7 separate regions of the Homo sapiens genome follow, and all the other regions are linked to region 5. The links are contacts of gene promoters, found by promoter capture Hi-C in blood cells and fetal thymus (Javierre and others, 2016). All regions are on one chromosome and are shown on one strand. The core of a region is centred on a gene start or on the middle of the fragment in contact, and the rest is flanking DNA. Distances in the headings are between cores, read along the strand shown. Region 1 has its middle 19 kb from the start of C1S. Region 2 overlaps EMG1 (EMG1 N1-specific pseudouridine methyltransferase). Region 3 overlaps LPCAT3 (lysophosphatidylcholine acyltransferase 3). Region 4 overlaps C1RL-AS1 (C1RL antisense RNA 1). Region 5 holds the start of ACRBP (acrosin binding protein). Region 6 overlaps C1S (complement C1s). Region 7 holds the start of ATN1 (atrophin 1).

The links. Contacts are between HindIII fragments. The CHiCAGO score rates a contact against its expected background, and 5 or more counts as called.
Region 1: a contact is called between a fragment that was not itself captured here and the fragment with the promoter of ACRBP in region 5, in 1 of 17 cell types (activated CD4 T cells). The highest score is 6.0, in activated CD4 T cells.
Region 2: a contact is called between a fragment that was not itself captured here and the fragment with the promoter of ACRBP in region 5, in 10 of 17 cell types (non-activated CD4 T cells, activated CD4 T cells, total CD4 T cells and 7 more). The highest score is 20.5, in non-activated CD4 T cells.
Region 3: a contact is called between a fragment that was not itself captured here and the fragment with the promoter of ACRBP in region 5, in 5 of 17 cell types (activated CD4 T cells, non-activated CD4 T cells, total CD4 T cells and 2 more). The highest score is 13.1, in activated CD4 T cells.
Region 4: a fragment that was not itself captured here is called in contact with the fragment with the promoter of ACRBP in region 5 in 10 of 17 cell types (activated CD4 T cells, non-activated CD4 T cells, total CD4 T cells and 7 more); the score reaches 12.9 in activated CD4 T cells.
Region 6: a contact is called between a fragment that was not itself captured here and the fragment with the promoter of ACRBP in region 5, in 4 of 17 cell types (non-activated CD4 T cells, activated CD4 T cells, total B cells and 1 more). The highest score is 6.4, in non-activated CD4 T cells.
Region 7: a fragment that was not itself captured here is called in contact with the fragment with the promoter of ACRBP in region 5 in 9 of 17 cell types (non-activated CD4 T cells, naive B cells, activated CD4 T cells and 6 more); the score reaches 11.2 in non-activated CD4 T cells.

What each region holds. Positions count from the first base shown.
Region 1 is chr12:7,040,333-7,043,032 of GRCh38, reverse strand. It overlaps the pseudogene LOC100419825. Among named protein-coding and RNA genes, the nearest start is that of C1S, 19 kb to the left of the region's middle. The HindIII fragment of the contact is 6,449 bases long and covers 1-2,700 here.
Region 2 is chr12:6,973,269-6,975,968 of GRCh38, reverse strand. It overlaps EMG1 (EMG1 N1-specific pseudouridine methyltransferase), which reads right to left. Exons shown (of 6, transcript NM_006331.8): 2 at 1,529-1,630; 3 at 1,276-1,417; 4 at 821-879; 5 at 591-740; 6 at 1-273. The coding sequence ends at 160. Among named protein-coding and RNA genes, the nearest start is that of EMG1, 3.7 kb to the right of the region's middle. The HindIII fragment of the contact is 838 bases long and covers 832-1,669 here.
Region 3 is chr12:7,011,824-7,014,523 of GRCh38, reverse strand. All of the region lies in intron 1 of LPCAT3 (lysophosphatidylcholine acyltransferase 3), which reads left to right. Among named protein-coding and RNA genes, the nearest start is that of LPCAT3, 5.3 kb to the left of the region's middle. The HindIII fragment of the contact is 2,598 bases long and covers 1-2,567 here.
Region 4 is chr12:7,115,735-7,118,434 of GRCh38, reverse strand. It overlaps C1RL-AS1 (C1RL antisense RNA 1), which reads right to left. Exons shown (of 12, transcript NR_026947.1): 8 at 1-2,700. It also overlaps a transcript of RBP5 not described here. Among named protein-coding and RNA genes, the nearest start is that of C1RL, 7.9 kb to the right of the region's middle. The HindIII fragment of the contact is 2,416 bases long and covers 209-2,624 here.
Region 5 is chr12:6,646,138-6,648,940 of GRCh38, reverse strand. ACRBP (acrosin binding protein) reads left to right here and starts at 1,509. Exons shown (of 10, transcript NM_032489.3): 1 at 1,509-1,617; 2 at 1,929-2,147; 3 at 2,364-2,458. The coding sequence starts at 1,575. RefSeq lists enhancers at 1,582-1,651, 1,575-2,088. The HindIII fragment of the contact is 16,958 bases long and covers 1-2,803 here.
Region 6 is chr12:7,065,674-7,068,373 of GRCh38, reverse strand. C1S (complement C1s) reads right to left here. Exons shown (of 12, transcript NM_001734.5): 7 at 2,404-2,557; 8 at 1,741-1,856; 9 at 1,257-1,335; 10 at 603-731. Among named protein-coding and RNA genes, the nearest start is that of C1S, 6.3 kb to the right of the region's middle. The HindIII fragment of the contact is 335 bases long and covers 1,116-1,450 here.
Region 7 is chr12:6,927,795-6,930,494 of GRCh38, reverse strand. ATN1 (atrophin 1) reads right to left here and starts at 2,536. Exons shown (of 10, transcript NM_001940.4): 1 at 2,111-2,536. RefSeq lists a silencer at 2,538-2,697. The HindIII fragment of the contact is 3,716 bases long and covers 1-2,700 here.

The DNA.
Region 1 (2,700 bases), core at 155-2,654, 390 kb before region 5:
CCAGTACTCCTCAAAACTTCGAGGTCATCATAATCAAGGAAGGTCTGAGAAAGTGTAACAGCCAGGAGGAGCCTAGGAGACATGAAAACTAAACGTAATGTGGTATTCTGGAGGAGGCCCTGGAACAGGAAAACGACATTAGGTAAAAACTAAGGGAATCTGAATAAATTATGGACATTAGTTAATAGTAATGTATCAACATCACTTCCATGATTGTAACAAATGTTCCACCCTAATGTAGACATTAATAATGGGGAAACCGTGTAGGAGCTGTATGGGAATTCTCTGTACTATACGCTCAATTTTTCTGTAAATCTAAAACTGCCCTATAAAAATAAAGTCTATTTTTAGAAAGTTATTCCAGCAAGCAGAAGAAAGATGTCAGACATATTTTTTCTATACTCACAAAAGTTAAAGCATGGACTTTTTCAAAAAAAAGATACAAGGGAGAATAACAGATGCATATTTTTAGAGAGAAAAAAGTGATGTGGTAGAACTTAACTGAGAAATTGGAAATAACAGGAAAGCCACCACAAAAATGAAAAGTTCATTATAGAAACAGCAAGAAGTCAAATACATACTATGAAAACATAGATAGTACATGGAGGCCAGTCTTGAAAAAAATCACCCAAAACAAAATGGAAAAGTGCAAAGGGATAAAATCGCAGAGACGCTGATGAAAATGGATCAAGGAGATACATGATTGGTGTTTTGAGAAAAGAATATAACAACTGGAATGGGAAAGTATTCAAAGATATGGTTGAGTATGGGCATGGTGGCTCACGCCTGTAATCCCAGCTCTTTGGGAGGCCAAAGCAGGCAGATTACCTGAGGTCAGGAGTTCAAGATCAGCCTGGCCAACATGGTGAAACCCCATCTCTACTAAAAATACAAAAATTAGCCAGGTGTGGTGGTGCACACCTGTAATCCCAGCTACTCCAGAGGCTGAGACAGGAGAATCGCTTGAACTTGGGAGGCGGAGGTTGCAGTGAGCTGAGATCACGCCACTGCACTCCAGCCTGGGTGACAGAATGAGACTCTGTCACCAAAAAAAAGTATATATATATATTTATATATTTTTATATATATGGTTGAAGATTTCTGTCAAATAAATGAACTGAAATCTTTAGATAAAAGGGCACTCTTACAGGAAAATAATGACAAAGAATCATTAACACTGAAGCCAATCCTGGAGATCCTAAATGACAAGGATAATGTAAAGAATATGGGACAGTGGTTTCCTTCCCCAAGAGTGTGCAGATGCTTGGGTGCAAAGGCCTATTTCTCTTCAGCCCCAGTTCACCCCACAGACCGAGGGCGGGCCTCGCCATCAGGACCCAGTGGCCATGTCCTGATGCAAGCTGCGACGGTCATTGTCCTCCAGAACAGGGATGGAGAAAATACCAGCCCAGGAAGCAGCAGGCTCACCAAGGGTCCGATTTCAGTTTTTGGAGACCCAGTCTGAGAGTCTGACTCCAAAGCCTCATTTTGTGCAGGACACCGACATGGAACAGGGACTCACTAGGGTTCCACCTGTTCCCCAGGTGCCTGCCTTTCCCCATGAGGACAGCCCAGGAGATCAGGCAGCTGCGCTCCTGACAGCCAGGTATCAGCAGTTTGTGACATCTGAGGATGTGGCTGTGCACCTTACTCAAGAGGAATGGAGATACCTGGACCTTGTTCAGAGGGAACTCTACAGAGATGTGAGGTTAGAGAATTATGGGAATGTGGTCCCACCAGGCATACTTCTCCCCCTTCCACCAGATTCATAGTGTGAATTTTTGCCCGGCCCTGAGTCATACCCAGGCAAGTGCTTTCTCTGGAGAAACTTAGTCCTTACAGCAGGAATCTCCAAGAGATGGCCCAAGTATTACCTGCTCAGAAACTCCTTTTCCATGATTGCCAGATATTAAACTTAACTGATGCGATAGATGCCCCCTAGGATGCCACCACTATGTAAAATCGCAGCTCCTCGAATTACCTTTGTTAAATTTCTAGTATCAGAGTCCAAGGAAGCCCCCTGCTGCAACCAGATGCACTTTGAACTCAGTTTATTCAGAAACCATGGTTGGTGGTCATCTTCTACTTGTGTTCTGAGAAACCACAAAATTCAACTTCAGCTCTTCAGTTATGATATTGTCATATTATTTTAGAATGTGAAACATATGCCGTGTGCCCCTCCTTTTATGTAGTGAATACAACCTGCCCCTTATGGTGGTTAACTCCCTGTCACCCCTGGGCTTTCCTCACGTTTAACACTCTGGTTTTCTCCTTCCTGAAGTCCCTGTGGCCCTCTTCAGGGTCCTACCCTCCTCCCCTTTATTCTTTGCAGTTCTGTACAGATTGATGCACTTATATTGCCTTTTCTGATTAAATGTTCCTTAGTCTTTCCTTGATGGAGGGGAGAAGGGAGGACAAAGAAGTTAAATTTTATTTTGGGGCATCAAAACAAATGTCTACTTAGTAACTTTGTAAACTGTAAAGTGATATATATAATTGTGAAGTACTATTAATTTTACCTAATAATTACAGAGTGTTCAACAGTTTAAAAAAAAAAAAAAGAATGCTGGCCAGGTGCAGTGGGTCACGCCTGTAATCCCAGCACTTTGGGAGGCTGAGGCAGGAGGATGGCTTGAGACCAGGAATTCAAGACCAACCTGAGCAACATAATGAGACACTGTCTCTATAAAAAAAAAAGAA
Region 2 (2,700 bases), core at 1-2,500, 330 kb before region 5:
ACAGTATTCATAGGATAAACAAATAGCAAATGTACAGCCTTGGCTTCCCCAAACTCCACAGTCTCAGTGCAGAAAGATCATCTTCCAGCAGTCAGCTCAGACCAGGGTCAAAGGATGTGACATCAACAGTTTCTGGTTTCAGAACAGGTTCTACTACTGTCAAATGACCCCCCATACTTCCTCAAAGGCTGTGGTAAGTTTTGCACAGGTGAGGGCAGCAGAAAGGGGGTAGTTACTGATGGACACCATCTTCTCTGTATACTCCACACTGACCTAAGAAAAGAACAGTTTTGTCAGCCAACTCTGTCACTCAGTAGCTGTTTCAGCCCTTCTTTAGGGCAGGAAAACTATGGCTGAGCTAGTATTTCAGCTGTGCTGTTGAATATCAAATCCCTACAAAGGATGAAGAAGGTCCTAACTGTGACTTCCAATTATGGCAGCAGCCCTCAAAGGATGTGCCCTGGGGCAGGGTGTGGAACTGTCATGTGTCTTCTAGCTCATTGTAAGCATTGTTAAAATGCCTACTGCTCTGGGAATTCTATACTAAGTTCAGCTCTACCAAGAATTTCAGGGTTGAGCCCAGACCTTACCTTGCCATGGGCAAAGGCCCCTACCACAAAAACAATAGGATCACTGCTGGGCACCAGCTCACGCACATCACTGACAACCGGGATGGAAAAAGAAGTGCCAACTTTCATACATCCAACTGGAAAGTGATCTGATACTGGATTCTTAATTACCTAAAGTAAAAAAGAGAGAAAAGTCAGCCCCAGAAACATTCCCAGAACCAGCCTTCAACTAACAGGTTTCAATACCTCACCTTCAAAAGCTTCTGGGGGCCATCAGCTGCTCGAACACTGAGCTTGTGTAAAAGTTGAACTAGAAGGGGGAAAAAAGAGTTCAGAGCTAGATGGAGACCACAGTCCTTCTGTCCAGTCATCGAACAAGGAAAACCCCATGGATAAGATGAGTTCCCTGTGTGCTTTATATCTAGACTGGACTCCTGAAATGTTAGGAACAAACAGTTGCCAAGCATATGGCTAGCTGTACAGTGATGGGTTCAGACTCCCTCTTTCACTCAGCCAGGAAGCTACTGCAAGAACAGGAGTGGAGTTTCCACAAACATAGAAAAATAATAACAGTCCTTGTCCTGGTATTAATCATGTTGTTCTCCCATTTTCTCGCTTAAAAATCCACATTTAGTTCTCCCTTTTCCTCTTCCTCCCTTCTTCCCTACTGACAAGTTCATTCTAACTTTGTTCTAAGGCTTCTTACCCATGAGGCCACAAAAGCGGTCAAAGGTTCTGGGAATTCGGGTCTGGGGATTCACTTCAATCAGAACATTCTTCTGTGTATGGATATAAACCTGTAGCAAGCCAGCTCGGTTCAGGGGACTATCCATCAGCATCAGCAAACTCTGAGCAAAGCAGAAACCGAGACATGGTTAAGGCTGAAGAGAGGCAGCACTCAGCTGCCAACCCTTCCATACAGAGGCTCAAAGGGTTGTGAGCACTGTCCCTGGAGTTACCTGGTGGGTGATATCTGGCCGCGCTTCCCCAGGGTCCCGTCCATTCTTCAACAATATAGACTTGTGCTTGTCACAGTTGAGTAGCTCATATGTCTTCCCTACCTGAAGAACAGGGAACATGACGAGAGAACAGCATAAGCTTCTGTTACCTAGCCCCGTGGTTCTTCAAGTGTGGTCCCCAAACTACCAGCAGCAGCTGCACCTGGAAACTTGTTAGGCAAATTCTCAGGCCCACCCTAGACCTACTAAACCAGGAACACTGGGGGTGGAGCCCAGCAAGCCCTTCGGGGGATTACTGTGCAGCCTTATTTGCACTCCCCAGTGAATGGTCTGAGAGGGAAACAGGAGGAAGGGCACAACCTGTGACTTCACATTATCTACTAATACACTGGATTTAATTAAAAAACCTGTGGCTGTTAGGCAAGGCCAATGAGACATCCTGGAACTAGGCAGGAGTTAGTAGTTAGCAAGGCTGAATGCTGTGTTTATTACAGGAGCAGTAAGTAGGTACTGTGCAAAATATCGAGTCACCACCCTCAGTTTGCGTACACCAAACATGCACTAAGTGAAGAGCTGCAAATCTGAACAAGAAATGTGAAGGCCGGGCGTGGTGGCTCACGCCTGTAATCCCAGCACTTTGGGAGGCCGAGGCGGGCAGATCACAAGGTCAGGAGATTGAGACCATCGTGGCTAACACGGTGAAACCCCATCTCTACTAAAAATATAAAAAATTAGCCGGGCATGGTGGCAGGCGCCTGTAGTCCCAGCTACTTGGGAGGCAGAGGCAGGAGAATGGCATGAACCCAGGAGGCGGAGCTTGCAGCGCCACTGCACTCCAGCCCGGGCAACAGAGCGAGACTCCATCTCAAAAAAAAGAAATGTGAAAACTAATGATGCAGGAGGCAGTTTAATCAAAGAAAACTCTCAGAAGTAAAAGGAAGAGGGGTTATTCCCAGTTTTAAGACGGGCATGGGGGCAGATGCAGTGGCTCACGGCTGTAATCCCAGCACTCTGGGAGGCCAAGGCAGGCAAATCACTTAAGGTCAGGAGTTCAAGACCAGCCTGGGCAACATGGCGAAACCCCATCTCTACTAAAAATACAAAAATTAGCTGGGCATGGTGGCACATGCCTGTAGTCCTAGCTACTTGGGAGGCTAAGGTGGGAGGATGGC
Region 3 (2,700 bases), core at 19-2,518, 370 kb before region 5:
CAGTCAGAAGACTGTAAAAGGAGTGTGTTTATGTTTGTGTGGTGTATGCTTGCAAGGAGTTTGATGGAAGGATGCTGAAGAGGAATTTTGCCATGAGCCCTGGTGCTGGCAAATACTACCAGAAAACATCTCCCCTTCAACAGCTTGGATCTCATCACTCCTTAATGTAACTAATACCATGAATTGCTCATATAAATTCAGTAACATGCACCTACTACAGGTAAAGCAGTATTCTTAACCCTGCAAGGGCAGGAGCAGTGGGTGTAGTATGAGTCAGGAGCCCTGCACTCAAAGGTATTATGGTCTGTTAGGGTATAGGAAATGGGCCTGAGATAAGTATACTAATAACCCCAATAAATTTTAAGCACCATAAGAGAGGTACAGAGCTTTGTGAGATTTAAAGATGGGACATTTCATTTAAAGATGAGTAAGGTTTCAGCATGCTGAGATGGTAAGACTTAAGGAATAGCATGAGCAGAGGCACTGAGGTGTGAATGTGGCAACACAGCCAAGGAACAGTCAGTAGTCTAGTGTGACTAAAACAGGACTTTAAAGAAGTGATGGAAAATCAGGCTGGAACTGTAGGTTAAAGAGCCTTTAAAGCCAAGGTAAAGAGTTAGTACTCACGTAGGTGATAGGGAACATTGGAGATTTTTGAGTGGGGAATAATATGGCTGGAGCTGTATTTAAAAAGATAATACAGCCTGGGGTGATTTGAAGTCAGCATAGACAAGTAGTAGGGAAACTAAGGAGAAAGAAGTGATCTAGAGAGGAAGTTATAATGACTTGGAGGCAGGGTGGCTGTGCTGAGAGGAGAAAGTGGGCATCTCCTGTGAGATGGTCTAGGAATACCGGAACCTTTTGAAAGGTAGATTCTGTAGACACAGTCATCTACACAGCTGCTCATGCCTGAAACCCAAGAATCAGCTTTGTTGCCTTTCTTCACTCACTCCCCACATCCCAGTCACCCAATCCTATCAATACAACCTCTGGATTGTGTCTCAGATCCATCTACTATTCTCCATCACCACAGCCACTAACCATCTGTCACCAGCACCACCCAAGTAGCCTCCTGACTAGTCTCTAATTCTGTTCTTGCCCCCTCAGTCCACTCTCCAAAAGCAGCCAGAGTGATCCGATCCTGTGCCTCTCCTGCTCAGAACCCTTCAGGGGCTTCCATACCTGGCTGGTAAGCCCCTGCCTGCTGCCCCAGCCTCGTCCCAAGCAAGCTGACAACCTTTTAGCCACATGGCCTTTGTTCAGTTCCTCAGGAAAGGCATGAAGGCTTCCCTACCTCAGAGCCTTTGCACACGCTTACCTGCTGCCTGGAGTGCCCTTCAGTCACCTGACAAACTCCTTTTCATCTTCCTCTGAGTTCTTTCCTGACTCTCATGTTCAATTATGTCCCCTGTTACACTTTCTCATACTGACCGGAATTTCCTTCCAAGTATATATTACACTTTGTAATTATATATTTGTAGATGAGGACAGAAACCATGGAAGTTTTGTTTACCACAGTGTACCCAGAGTTTAACACATTACTTGGCTTGTAGAAAAGGCTCGATAAATACTTGAATAGGTGAATGTATGAATGAATGACTTGGCAACTTATTAGCTGGAGGATAAAGTCGTAATTTTAAAAAGACTCCATCCTCCTGCCTGAGTAGCTGGAAAGATAAGGGTATCTTTGACCAATGCCAGAGATCAAGTGGAGGATCAGATACTCTTAAGTGCCAGGAAATGATCTGGTTTGGGGTTCACTTTAGGTTCCAAGGGCACTTCCAGGTATCTTGGGAGTTGTGAAGCCTGGTCTTGAGCTCAGGAAAGAAGCTGGGCTAAAGACAGAGTTTTAGGAGACAGTATTGGTATCATAACTGACTCAGGGAGGGAATGAAATGCCATGGAAAAGGTTATACAGAGAAGAGGATCTTATTCACGTTGATTGGGTATGTTAATGTTGCTACCCCTTGATAATAGTAATAGCTGGCATTTATTAAGGATTTTCTGTGTACCAGACATTGTCCTAAATGGTCAACAGGCAGTTCCCCACCTAAACCTGCCAGTTACCCGTGAGGTAATTATAGTGCTGTTAAGATCTCCTGGTACAGATAGGAAAGTCAGCCCTACAAAGATTGAGTAAGTCACACTGAGTTCTGCCTGACTCCAGAGTTCCTGCTCTTTACCGCTGAGATTGGGAGGAGCATGTGGGGCTGGAAAAGATAAATGCCCTTGGTGTCCTTTTCTCTTTTCACTCTCAGTGGTTAAACCAAGATGCAATCAGTATATGAGCCACCTCTCAGTGTCCAAAGCTAGAGCTGGCCAAATGGAGCAGATGGCCACCCTGCTTACTGTGAGTGTTCCCTAGTCTTGGCCATGATGGTGGCTTGGCTGTTAGACTGATCAAAAATTGCAGCTGGGGGTAACAATTCATCCCTCAGAGGTTCAGAATTAGCATCACTAAAGTTAGCGACCTTTAAAATCAAAGGAGGTCCTGCAGTTTAGTTCCCTTTGGACCAAAGTCAGGTCTGGCCCTTCAGAAAAAAATCCATTATTCAGTGCAGAAAGCTTTCTTCAGGTAGCACTGGAATCACAATATAAAGAGACCAAAGGTAAGCTAGATGAAAATTAAGCAGCATTAATGAAACAAAGAGACTTCTGACCATAATACAAAGCAGGGTCCAAAAATTCTACTGCTATAAA
Region 4 (2,700 bases), core at 167-2,666, 470 kb before region 5:
GGAGTCGTGTAACCTCAGGCGAATTCTTTCACTTCTGTGTGCCTGTGCTCCCTCCCAGGCCTGGTCCCGATCCACCTTCTGTCTTGTCTTTCCCACCTGCTCCTCCTCTTGGATTCCTCTCCCTTCCCGGCTGTTTTCGGAAGAGGCTCGCTCATATCCTTGACCCAGCTGTAAGGAAACTATTGTCACCCTTAATGAAACTAAAGCTTATCCTGCTGGGTCCTCATTGGAGCAAGAACCCACAGGTGAAGGGGCAGCCAGGTGGCAAAGCCCCCACCCCAGCCTGTCTCCCCACCACTCCTTCTTTTCTGAGAAGCACAGGTGGGACAAGGTGGGCCTCTTGAATGAGGGTTTATTAAAGTCTTGGAGGAAACAAAAGGGAAACAGAACAGAGAGTTATACTCACCTTGATTATCTGAGGCACAAATGCAGCCTCAGCCATGAACATATTGAAGGAAGGGATAGTCCAGTATGTAACAGACGCACCCTGCTATTGGCAAGCAAAGCACAGATGGAGTGAATTTAAAGAGTCCTTTACTAAAGGACTTTGTTTCAGGACGAAAGTCCACACAGAGCCCACAGGGTGTGGGAGATCTGAGATCTGGAACTGGGATCTCTGGGCTCTGAACTTGTTCTGTTGGGCAATCTGCTGATGGAGACCTTGTCTTCGAGTGTCAGGATGCACACTGTGGTCAGCTCCCCCTAGGTTGCAAAGGGCATTCTATCTGGGACTTGTCTTCCCTGCCCATCTGCTCTCCTTTTCAACAGCTTCTTGGTTCTTTTGAAACCTATGCTGTCTTCCCAAAGCCCTACCTCCTATTGTGTTGGCCTCCTGTAAGCCATGCTTTCATCTGTCCAGTCCTGCTCTTGGTGGGATGAACGAGAGGCCTCTACAGATCTCAAGGTGGAGGAGGAGAGGGTCAGAGCCCCCAAAGGTACTCTGGATTTGGGTAAATGCACCTGAAATACAACCATACCCAGCAAAAATAACATCCTGCTAGCTGATCGTCTGCACTTATTGTACTAAAATAATACATCTACTTCTATGAGAACCAGCGTCCGAGACAGCCACCAACAATACCTGCTTCCCAGTATTCCTGTCCTTGTGATGTCTCCTTCCACATCGGGTTGTCTGTGTGACCAATGGAATAAGGCAGAAATGATGCTACGTCACTTCCAAGGCTGGCTTATAAAAGACACTGTCACCTCTGCCTTGTTCTTTCCACCTTGGGTCACTCTGGGGAAAGCCAGCTGCTATGCCGCGAGGACACTCAAGCGTCCTATGAGGAGGGCCATGTGGCAGGGAACTGAGGCCGCCTGCCCACATCCATGTGAGTGACCGTCTGGAAGCAGACCTCCAGCCCCAGTCCCGCCTCTGGAGGACTGCAGCCTGCACCTGGACCAAAGCCTTGTGAGAGACCCTGATCCTAAACTACCCATCTCAGCCGCTTCTGGATTCCTGACCCACAGAAACTGTGTGAAATAGTACATACTTGCTGTTTTAAACAAAATGTGGGGGTGACTTTTTACAAGCAGACAGATAACTGCAACATAGTCTCAACCTTGAATTTCATTGCAAATGACCCCATCCTGACCATAACCTCAATATTCGCTAAGTGGGCAGAAGAATGGGGTTGGGGGGTGGGGGCAGTAGATGACTTCGGGCAGTAAAAATGTGTCCAGTCACAAAAAGGCATGACTCCATCCTCAGTGCTCACAGCCCTCCCATCCTAGCTCTAAGCTAGACCCTTCCACGAGTCTAGAGAGTGAAGTTCAGAGGCAGGCAGCTGCCCCCTTTCCCTTCCTCTTTGAGGCCCACCCACCTGAGTCCTGTCTGAGGACTGCCTCTCCCCTAGGTAATTGTTAAAAGGAATGTCCAGCATCTTCAGATGGTACCCTGCTCGTTTCAAAGTTGTGTGACCTTACTCTGTGGCTTCAAAAGGACAAAGACATCAGAATACAACTCAATGCACCTCACGCCATTAGACAGCATGAGTGACAAGCCGCAGGGAGGATATATCAGACAGCACCAGATCTTAGCTGGTAGGAAGCTGATTGACAAGTTCTGTGGAGGACAGAGCAGCAGAGCCCTGAAGTCCACAGCAATAAGGGGAAGATGGTGTTCTAGACACACCAGCAGGGAAGAGCCAAACCTGGATGGTCAGTTTGACCTCCCAGGGTAAGGAGCCTCTGGGTCTTCTCTACCTCTCCCAGGACCACCACAGTGAAACTAGAGCCAGAGGGTTCTTTGCTGAAAAGAGGGTGAGTGAGGTGGAGAGATGCAGATGAGAGGAGGCTTTATGCAGAAGCCATCAGGTTGTGCCATATCTAAAGCCTGGAAAAAGGAGGATACCAGCTGATAGGATTTGGCTCTATGTCCCCAACCAAATCTCATGTGGAATTGTAATCCCCACGTGTTGGAGGAGGGGCCTGGTGAGAGGTGATTGGATCATGGGGGCAGTTTCTAATGGTTTAGTGCCATCCCCCTAGTGCTGTCTCCCGATGGAATTCTCATGAGATCTGGTTGTTTAAAAGTGTGTAGACTTCTCCCTTCTTCTCTTTCTCCTGCTGCCATGTGAAGAAGGTCCTTGCTTCCCCTTCGCCTTCTGCCATGATTATAAGCTTCCTGAGGCCTCCCAGTCATGCTTCCTGTTAAGCCCGCAGAACTGTGAGTCAATTAAACTTCTTCTCTTCATGAAT
Region 5 (2,803 bases), core at 260-2,759:
TTATTTTATTTTATTTTATTTTTGAGACAGGGTCTCACTTTGTCACCCAGGCTGGAGCACAGTGGTGAGATCTCAGCTCACTGCAGCCTTGACCTCTGAAGACTCAGGTGATCCTCCTACCTCAGCCTCCCCAAGTAGTAAGTGGGACAACAGGCGCACACCACCACACCTGACAATTTTTGTATTTTTTGTAGAGACAGGGTTTCGCCATGTTGCCCAGGCTGGTCTGGAACTCCTGGGCTCAAGGAATCCACCCGCCTTGACTTCCCAAATGCTGGGATTACAGGCGTGAGCCACCAAGTCTGGCCCAAGACAATTTCTTGTTTTATTTTTCTTTTTTACTTTTGCTTTTGGGTGGGGACAGGGTCTCACTTTGTCACCCAGGCTGGAGAGCAGTGGCCCGATTGCACCTCACTGCAGCCTTGGCCTCATGGGCTCAAGCGATCCTCCCATCTCAGCCCCCCAAGAAACTGGGACTACAGGCACGTGCCACCACGCTTGGCTAATTTTTTGTACTTTTTGTAGAGACGAGGTTTCGCCCTGTTGCCCAGGCTGGAATTTCTCATTTTAAACACAAAACAGATACAAAAGCAAAAGTTCTCCTCCCATACCTCAGTGGACTGTCTTACTCGATTCTCCCTTGGAAACCACTTTCGTAGACCACTGAGCCACCCTCTTGTTTTCCCCTTGGACCCATTTTGCTCATGGAGGCGCCCTGTCTAGTTCCTACCCAGATAGGCCTTGACTTGGTTTTGCACATTCTATCTCTGCCTGCGCTTAGCTCTAGACCTCACGACCTGTTTGTTGGGCGAGTTGCTTCCCTAAGCCCCGATTTCTCATCTGTAAAACGAATGATAGTGTATCTACCTTATGGGATTCCTATGGCAATTACGTAAGGTAGTGCATGTAAAGATGCTAAGTGGCTGGCTACGGTGGCTCACACCTGTAATCCCAGCACTTTGGGAGGCCGAGGTGGGCAGATCATTTGAAGTCAGGAGTTCAAGACCAGCCTGGCCAACATGGTGAAACCCAGTCTCTACTAAAAATACAAAAATTAGGCCGGGCATGGTGGCTCACGCCTGTAATCCCAGCACTTTGGGAGGCCGAGGTGGGCGGATCACAAGGTCAAGAGATCGAGACCATCTGGCCAGCATGGTGAAATACCATCTCTACTAAAAATACAAAAATTAGCTGGGCGTGGTGGCGTGCACCTATAGTCCCAGCTACTCGGGAGGCTGAGGCAGGAGAATCACTTGAACCTGGGACGCCGAGGTTGTAGTGAGCCGAGATCGCACCACTGCACTCCAGCCTGGGCGACAGAGTAGGACTCCGTCTCAAAAAAAAAAGAAAAAGACGCTAAGTGAAGGTAGCTGTTTGCCATTCCTACCATCTGGATGGGCTCTGGCCACTTTAGGGCCCTGAGAGCCCGGCTGTCGAGGCCCCGCCCCGGCCCGCTCTTTGTGACGCGTGGGCGGTGCCCGCGTGCGCCCCGCCCCGCGCCTGCGGCTCTCTCTGCGGCTTGGCCCGTTAGAGGCGGCTTGTGTCCACGGGACGCGGGCGGATCTTCTCCGGCCATGAGGAAGCCAGCCGCTGGCTTCCTTCCCTCACTCCTGAAGGGTGAGAGGTTTACACCTGCTCCAACAGACTCTCCCCGGGCTAGTCCTCTCCCTCCCGAGAGCTCTGCTTTTACGGTTTCTGGATCGCTTCCTCATGGTGGTCGCGCTGGGTCGGCTCCCTAGGTCCTGGGATACTCCCATCTCCCCCCGCCCGCGGCCGGACCTTTGCCTCTGTCTCTAGACTCCCCCCGCCCTGGTCAGCAGGGATAACCCTCACCCCGTTCCTAATTTGCCAGTCTGGGTCTGTCTGTCCTGGTCTCGGAGCGGGTTTTGGGGTTCGGTCCTTCCATCATCCGTTCGCCCGCTCCGCAGTGCTGCTCCTGCCTCTGGCACCTGCCGCAGCCCAGGATTCGACTCAGGCCTCCACTCCAGGCAGCCCTCTCTCTCCTACCGAATACGAACGCTTCTTCGCACTGCTGACTCCAACCTGGAAGGCAGAGACTACCTGCCGTCTCCGTGCAACCCACGGCTGCCGGAATCCCACACTCGTCCAGCTGGACCAATATGAAAACCACGGCTTAGTGCCCGATGGTGAGGGCCAGACTAGGGGGGAAACCGAGGCACCCAGAGTGTTCACCCAAACCTCAGGGCAAAAACCCCTGTGCTCATGTGAGGCGGGGAAGGGCATGGCTGGCACCACACCATGAGCTCGTACTCTCCACCCTCCCCATGGCGTGGAGTCCATTGCCCACAGCCCCACCCCAAGCTCCCCACGGGTTCATCTTCTCCACCCCTGCCCTTTCTCAGGTGCTGTCTGCTCCAACCTCCCTTATGCCTCCTGGTTTGAGTCTTTCTGCCAGTTCACTCACTACCGTTGCTCCAACCACGTCTACTATGCCAAGGTGAGGCCCAGGACAAAGGTTGGATTTGGTGCCCCAGGGCCAAGGGAGAGGCGGCAGCAGTGGGGAGTTGAGGAAGGGTTCCAGGAGAGTCATCCTTAGCTCCTCCTTCCCTGCCATTTTGCCAGTCATTTACCCAGATTATATATGAATACAGTCTCACCTTGGATATTCAGATTGAACAATTCTGTTACTGCAAGAAAAGTAGAGAAGAGACTGGGCATGGTGGCTCATGCCTGTAATCTCAGCACTTTGGGAGCCCGAGATGGGCAGATCACCTGAAGTCAGGAGTTCGAGACCAGCCTGGCCAACATGGTGAAACCCCGTTTCTACTAAAAATACAAAAAA
Region 6 (2,700 bases), core at 34-2,533, 420 kb before region 5:
CCCGTTCCTTCAGAACCTCAGCTCGTCTAGGATTCAAGTAGTAAATCAGATTAAATCAGCCAGAAAAAAAATATCTTCCTCCAAACAATCCCTCAGGCCTCTAGCCTGCCAGGGAGACAAAGGGAACATCTCCAAAGCAGAAGGAAAGAAGGCATCGGGAAAGTGGCGAAATAAATACAGAGCAATGCAGAGAACGTATTAGGGTCTCATTCAGCCCTGCACCTAGCATGACCAAAGCCTCTACATCAAGAAAGCCAGTCAGTGTAGTTTGGTGGCTTAAAGCTGAAGGCATTGCTCCTGTGGGTTTTACATGAAATAACTGGTCAAAAGGTGGGTAATCCCATGAAATGGATGTTGTAGGGGAATTCCTGCTGCAGCTGTGAACTCAGTTGGTGACCTCTATGATTCCCTGAGGCTGATGCTCCCCTGAACTTGCCCTGCTCCAGATGAAAACTGTATCTTTGGACGAAGCCAAGGGGATGAACAATGTCTGTCCTATCGCCTTCATTTGTCTCCAAACTCTGTCTCTGGCACAGATTATGCTATCCACCCTCCAACACCTTCTCACTCTCTCTCTCTCTTCTCCAGTAGAAGAAACCTACCACCTCCTCCATTTTCCATGTAGTAATATGGCTCCTCACAAGTGTAGCGGATGACAGAACCAAACAAAGTGCTCTCTGGGTCTTCAACTTTACCATTCTCAATGGATTCAGGAATGCCACAGTCCACAGCTACCAGACGAAGGAAGGAGAGCGATGGTCAGGACAGCCACTTCCTCCAAGGAAGAGTCATGGGGCCAGGTTCATCCTCACTGCTTCCCCACCCCATATCCACAGGCACACCTGGGATGAACCTCCCCACACCAGCCTCTCTGTGGCCATCCTCCCCAACTGGCATCTCTCAGCTCTCTCACCCGCTGAGATGCCAATTCAGATGGCCCCATGAAAGCCGTAGTGAAGAGCCTGGTTCTCAGTGGTTGGTGAAGGCCCAGTGGAAGCCACAAATGCACCCACGTGGGGCTACTAACTCGACCTATCCCATAGCCCCTTTCTTGGAAAGAAACATGCCGATCTAGTTGGCCTGGGACCAGATGCGGGGCTGGGACTAGAAAAGCTTCCATGACTGGCTTCCCTTCAAAAACCCAACCCACTCCCTCACATGCCTAAGAGGAAACCATGCATTTGAATTTTGATGTGCTGATCTTTCCATTCTCTCTGAGAGAAAAAGAAAGACTTCCACTTTGAAGAGACACATACGTTGACATTTCAGTTTGGAATTACTCCACTTTCCATTGCTTTGACAAGTCGAATAGAAAGATGTTGCACCAACACGTCCCTGGAGAATAATAAACATCACCACTTATTTCTGAAGAGAGATATGGGAAACCAAAATCAAAACTGGAATTGATCTCTGGCCTTGGATCAATGAGGAGTCCTCACCACAAGAAGCTTGGGAACATCTTAGCAGACCTAAAGCACCCAGGAGATGAGGCTGACAGAAAGCTTTGCCCCAACGTGTCAACTCCCCTTCCTCAAGAAGACTGAAGGCAGAGAGAATGCCAAGCTGGCCAGGCAGCTCCATGACTCACAAGGGAGAACTACAGATCTTAAGCTGTTGTGTTTATGGGAAAGGTGTTATACCTTGATCACACACATACATTGGGTAAACAACTGGACAATTTCAGTCCGCTCATCCTGATCTGGGGCCAGGGACTGGGGAGAAGCCAAGGTGGTACTTTACCTCCACAACTTCAAACCCATCCAGACAGGTTATCTGCACCACATCTCTAAAGACATATTTTGCCTTCGCAGGCTCCCAAACAGAATTGGGAGTGTCTTCCTTAGGGCAGGGCATTGCTTGAAAGAACAGAAGTTGGGACAGGAGGAAAAAATTACTAAATAGTTGAAGACTCTCATTCTATTTACATCATTCTCACACTTTCTAAAATCGTCCAGTTGTCCTCAATCCTGATGCTTAACATTCCAATACAGCAGATGTCTAAAATCATATGGCATTACCAACTAACCACCCGCAAGCTGTCTGCAGTCTCAGGTCTAGTTAAAGGATTACTAGAGGTTGAGGCATTTCTAGCAACCGTTGACTGGTTTAGATTTTCCTGAAGAAGTGAAGTATCTCAGGATTCTATCAGAACAACAATCTATCTGTTTTTTAAATTATTGTTGCTTTGTTTTTGTTTTGTTTTAGAGACAAGGTTTTGCTCTGTTGCCCAGAGTGGACTCAAACTCCTACTTCCTGGGCTCAAGGGATCCTCCTGCCTCAGCCTCCCTCGGTAGCTGAGATCACAGGTGCTTCCAGTGTGCCTGGATCATCTACCTGCTTTGATCCCACATTGTTTGGGGACTTTGGTATCACCAACCAAAGAGGCACTTCTAAGTTACTCACGATCTCCATGATAGCGAAGTTTCCAGCCCTTTTTTTGCCCTGTTAGATCAGTTTGGAAGATGATATCAAGAGCATTACTCTTGGTTTCAATATTTAGAGGCCCAGGGAATCCATGACCACAGTAAGGACCAAATTGCCGATCTCCTGCAACAAACTGAACAAAATGATGAAATCAGAAGAGGGAAAGAACTAAAGGGAAGAGGTAAAATTGGGAAGTGGGAGATACAAATAAAAGAGGCATTAAATGTCACATAAAATAAGAAGAAAATAAGGGTCAGGAGAAAAGATAATTTTATC
Region 7 (2,700 bases), core at 51-2,550, 280 kb before region 5:
AAAATGATTAAGACCAGACTGGGTTGGGAGGAAAGTGAGAACTAGAAAAAGAGCCCCTAAGTAAGAACAGGAAAAGAAATTAAGAGAGAAATATGGGATGTCAGAAGGAATACAGTGGAGTCACAAGCTCTCTGGGAGGGGCTCGCAGGCTAAATTTCAGGATCATTGGCCCAGCCCCCAACATCATTCTGGACCTGCCAGACTAACAAACCAGTCCAAAGTGACTCCTAGATAACAATGCAGCCCAGACCAGCAGATAACGATGCACTGGCCTAAGCCTTCTGAGAATCCGGGACCTTCAGAGAGGCCTCAGAGATCATCTCATCTATAGCCCCTTCATCTTAACAATGAAGCCCAGGCTCAAAGAGAAGTGACTTGCCCAAGGTCACAGAGGCACAGCCAGGTCTAGACACAGGTCTCCTGGCTCCTGTTCTATAGTATTTCCCCTGCATGAAGCTGTTTCACAGCCCTCTGTCCTGGGCCACCCTCACCTGGGATGGGCCTGGGAGCCCAGCCATTTCTACAAGGTCAGGGAAGAAGGCCAAAGGTTAGTTGAGGGAAAGAGGAAAAGGGTTACTCAAGAAGGGAGGCTCAAAGAGGAATTCAAGTTTTAGAAAATGAAAGAAAGTGCAAAGAAGCAAAAAGACAACTCTACAAAAAATAACATAATAAGGGAGGTAGAGGTCAGAACCAACTGCCAAAAGATGGTGTAACCTGAACAGAAGCGTTTTCATCCTCCCATCATGCCCAGGTGGAGAGACTTGGAGAAACACCTATGATCTGCAAGGAACGTATCTACCTGTTCCAACAGACTTCAACATGAAAGGGTGCACACCGTGGGGAAACTCCCAACCACCAACAGATCCAGAAACAACCTCCAAAACCCAGCCCAGAGTCCCAAGGACAGCCACAGGCTGAGGTCCAATAAACATTCGAAGCCCCCCCAACCAATCTGACATCCCACTGGATCACTACCATAGCAACACAGTGGCAAAAGGTGCCCCTCAAGAGACCATCCCAGGTGTCCATCTGGCAGCTACCCCCTACCCCAGTTGCCAAAGCAACTCCTACCCTCCTATAGCACCTCAGGTAAGGGAGCTTGAAGGTACCTACCCTAGTCAAAATAAGCCCATGCACAAAGGGAGATCTTTGAGCTCAAAGCAGTAACTAAGGCCTCCCTATATAGATCACAGCTCCAGGGGCAGCGGACGCTCCGGAAATTGGAGGGTGGAGGGTGGAGGTCGCAACTTGCCTGGAGTGCCTGTAAGGTTGCTCAATTCTCCATTTCCATCCTCCCAGAACCCCTTTCTTCCCAACTCCCCCTTCTGTGTTCCTGTTTTCCTCCTCACTAGTTTTGGGATAACCCACACTACTGGGCCCCAGTGCCCTCTCCAAGAAATAACTATGTCTGGGATAGGGAAAACAGGGTCAGAGGTGACCTGCAGTAGGGGAATGAAAACCGTCACAAAGACATGGCCTTCCCTCTTCCACGCTGGAAAACCTCCGGCTCTTCTCAAAAATGGACCTCTCTTTGCCCAAGCCTCCGTCTCCCCCAGGTTCATCAGCCACAATCCCTCTTTCCACCTACCACACCCCTTTCCCGTTTCCCACTTCCCGTCTATTCCTAAAGCCCCCAACCCCAGGCTCCGGAACCCGTGTTCTGGTCCTTTGGAGCTTTTTCCTGGAGGCTTCATGCCCCACCTCGCTGCCATCTCTCCTATCCATTCTGCCTTCGCCCGGAACCCCACTCACAGCATCCCCCGTTTTCCTCCGCCAACCCCGGCCTCGATGTTCCTCCTCTTTTGAGTCTGCGGGTCCCGGATACCCTCTGGCCCCACAGGCCTCCTCCGGAGACCCTCCCTCCTTCCCCACCTTCCCGATCCTCCCGAAACCCTGGCCCCCGACTCTCCTCGGCGGGCCCCACCCCCTGAGCCCCCGGCCCTCAGGCCAGGCAGAGCCCGCAGTGGGGGGACGGGATTGGGAAAATAACAAATGGAGGCGGCGGCGGCAGGAGGGGGAACTGGGAGGGGTGGGGGTGGGGAGCCGCAGGCCGGAGCCCGGGCGGGACAGAACCCCGCGGGCCCGGGGCCCAGGCGGCCGCAGACCTTACCTGCTGGTAGCTCGGGACGGCTGGCTGGCTCCGAGCGGGATTCCGGGCTCCGGCGCCTCTGGGGGGCGGCGGCGGCAGCTCCCCCGCCCCCCTCTCCTCTTCTCGGCCTCAGTCGCCGCCGCGACGACGGCGGCGGCGGCCCCGACCCCCCCGGAGGGCGGCCCCCATCCCCCCTTTTCCCCGCCTGGCCCCAATCGCCCGCCGGCCCCCGGAGCAAACCCCGATCCCCGCTCTGCTCCCCACCTCCCCGGGCTCGCCGCCTCCCCCTGGCCGCCCGGAATGCCCCGGGCCGCGCCGCCCGCCCCCGCCGCGCCGCCCGGCCCCGCGGCCCGCCCGGCCCTCGGCGCGGTTCCGACCCGCCGCCGCCCGCGCCCGCCTAGCGCAGCCCGCACCCGCGCGATCCCGGGCCCCTCGGCCGCCTCGCCCGCGGCCCCCGCCCCTTCCCCGGCAGTCGGCTCCCTCTCCCCCCTCCTAGCCCCTCCCCGAAGCCGCGGTCCCTCCGAAATGGCCCGGCCCGAGGCCCCGACCCGGCGCGGGGCTGCGGACGGGCTGGGCGGTGCGTCCGGCGACTCGCACAGGAAAGCGGACGG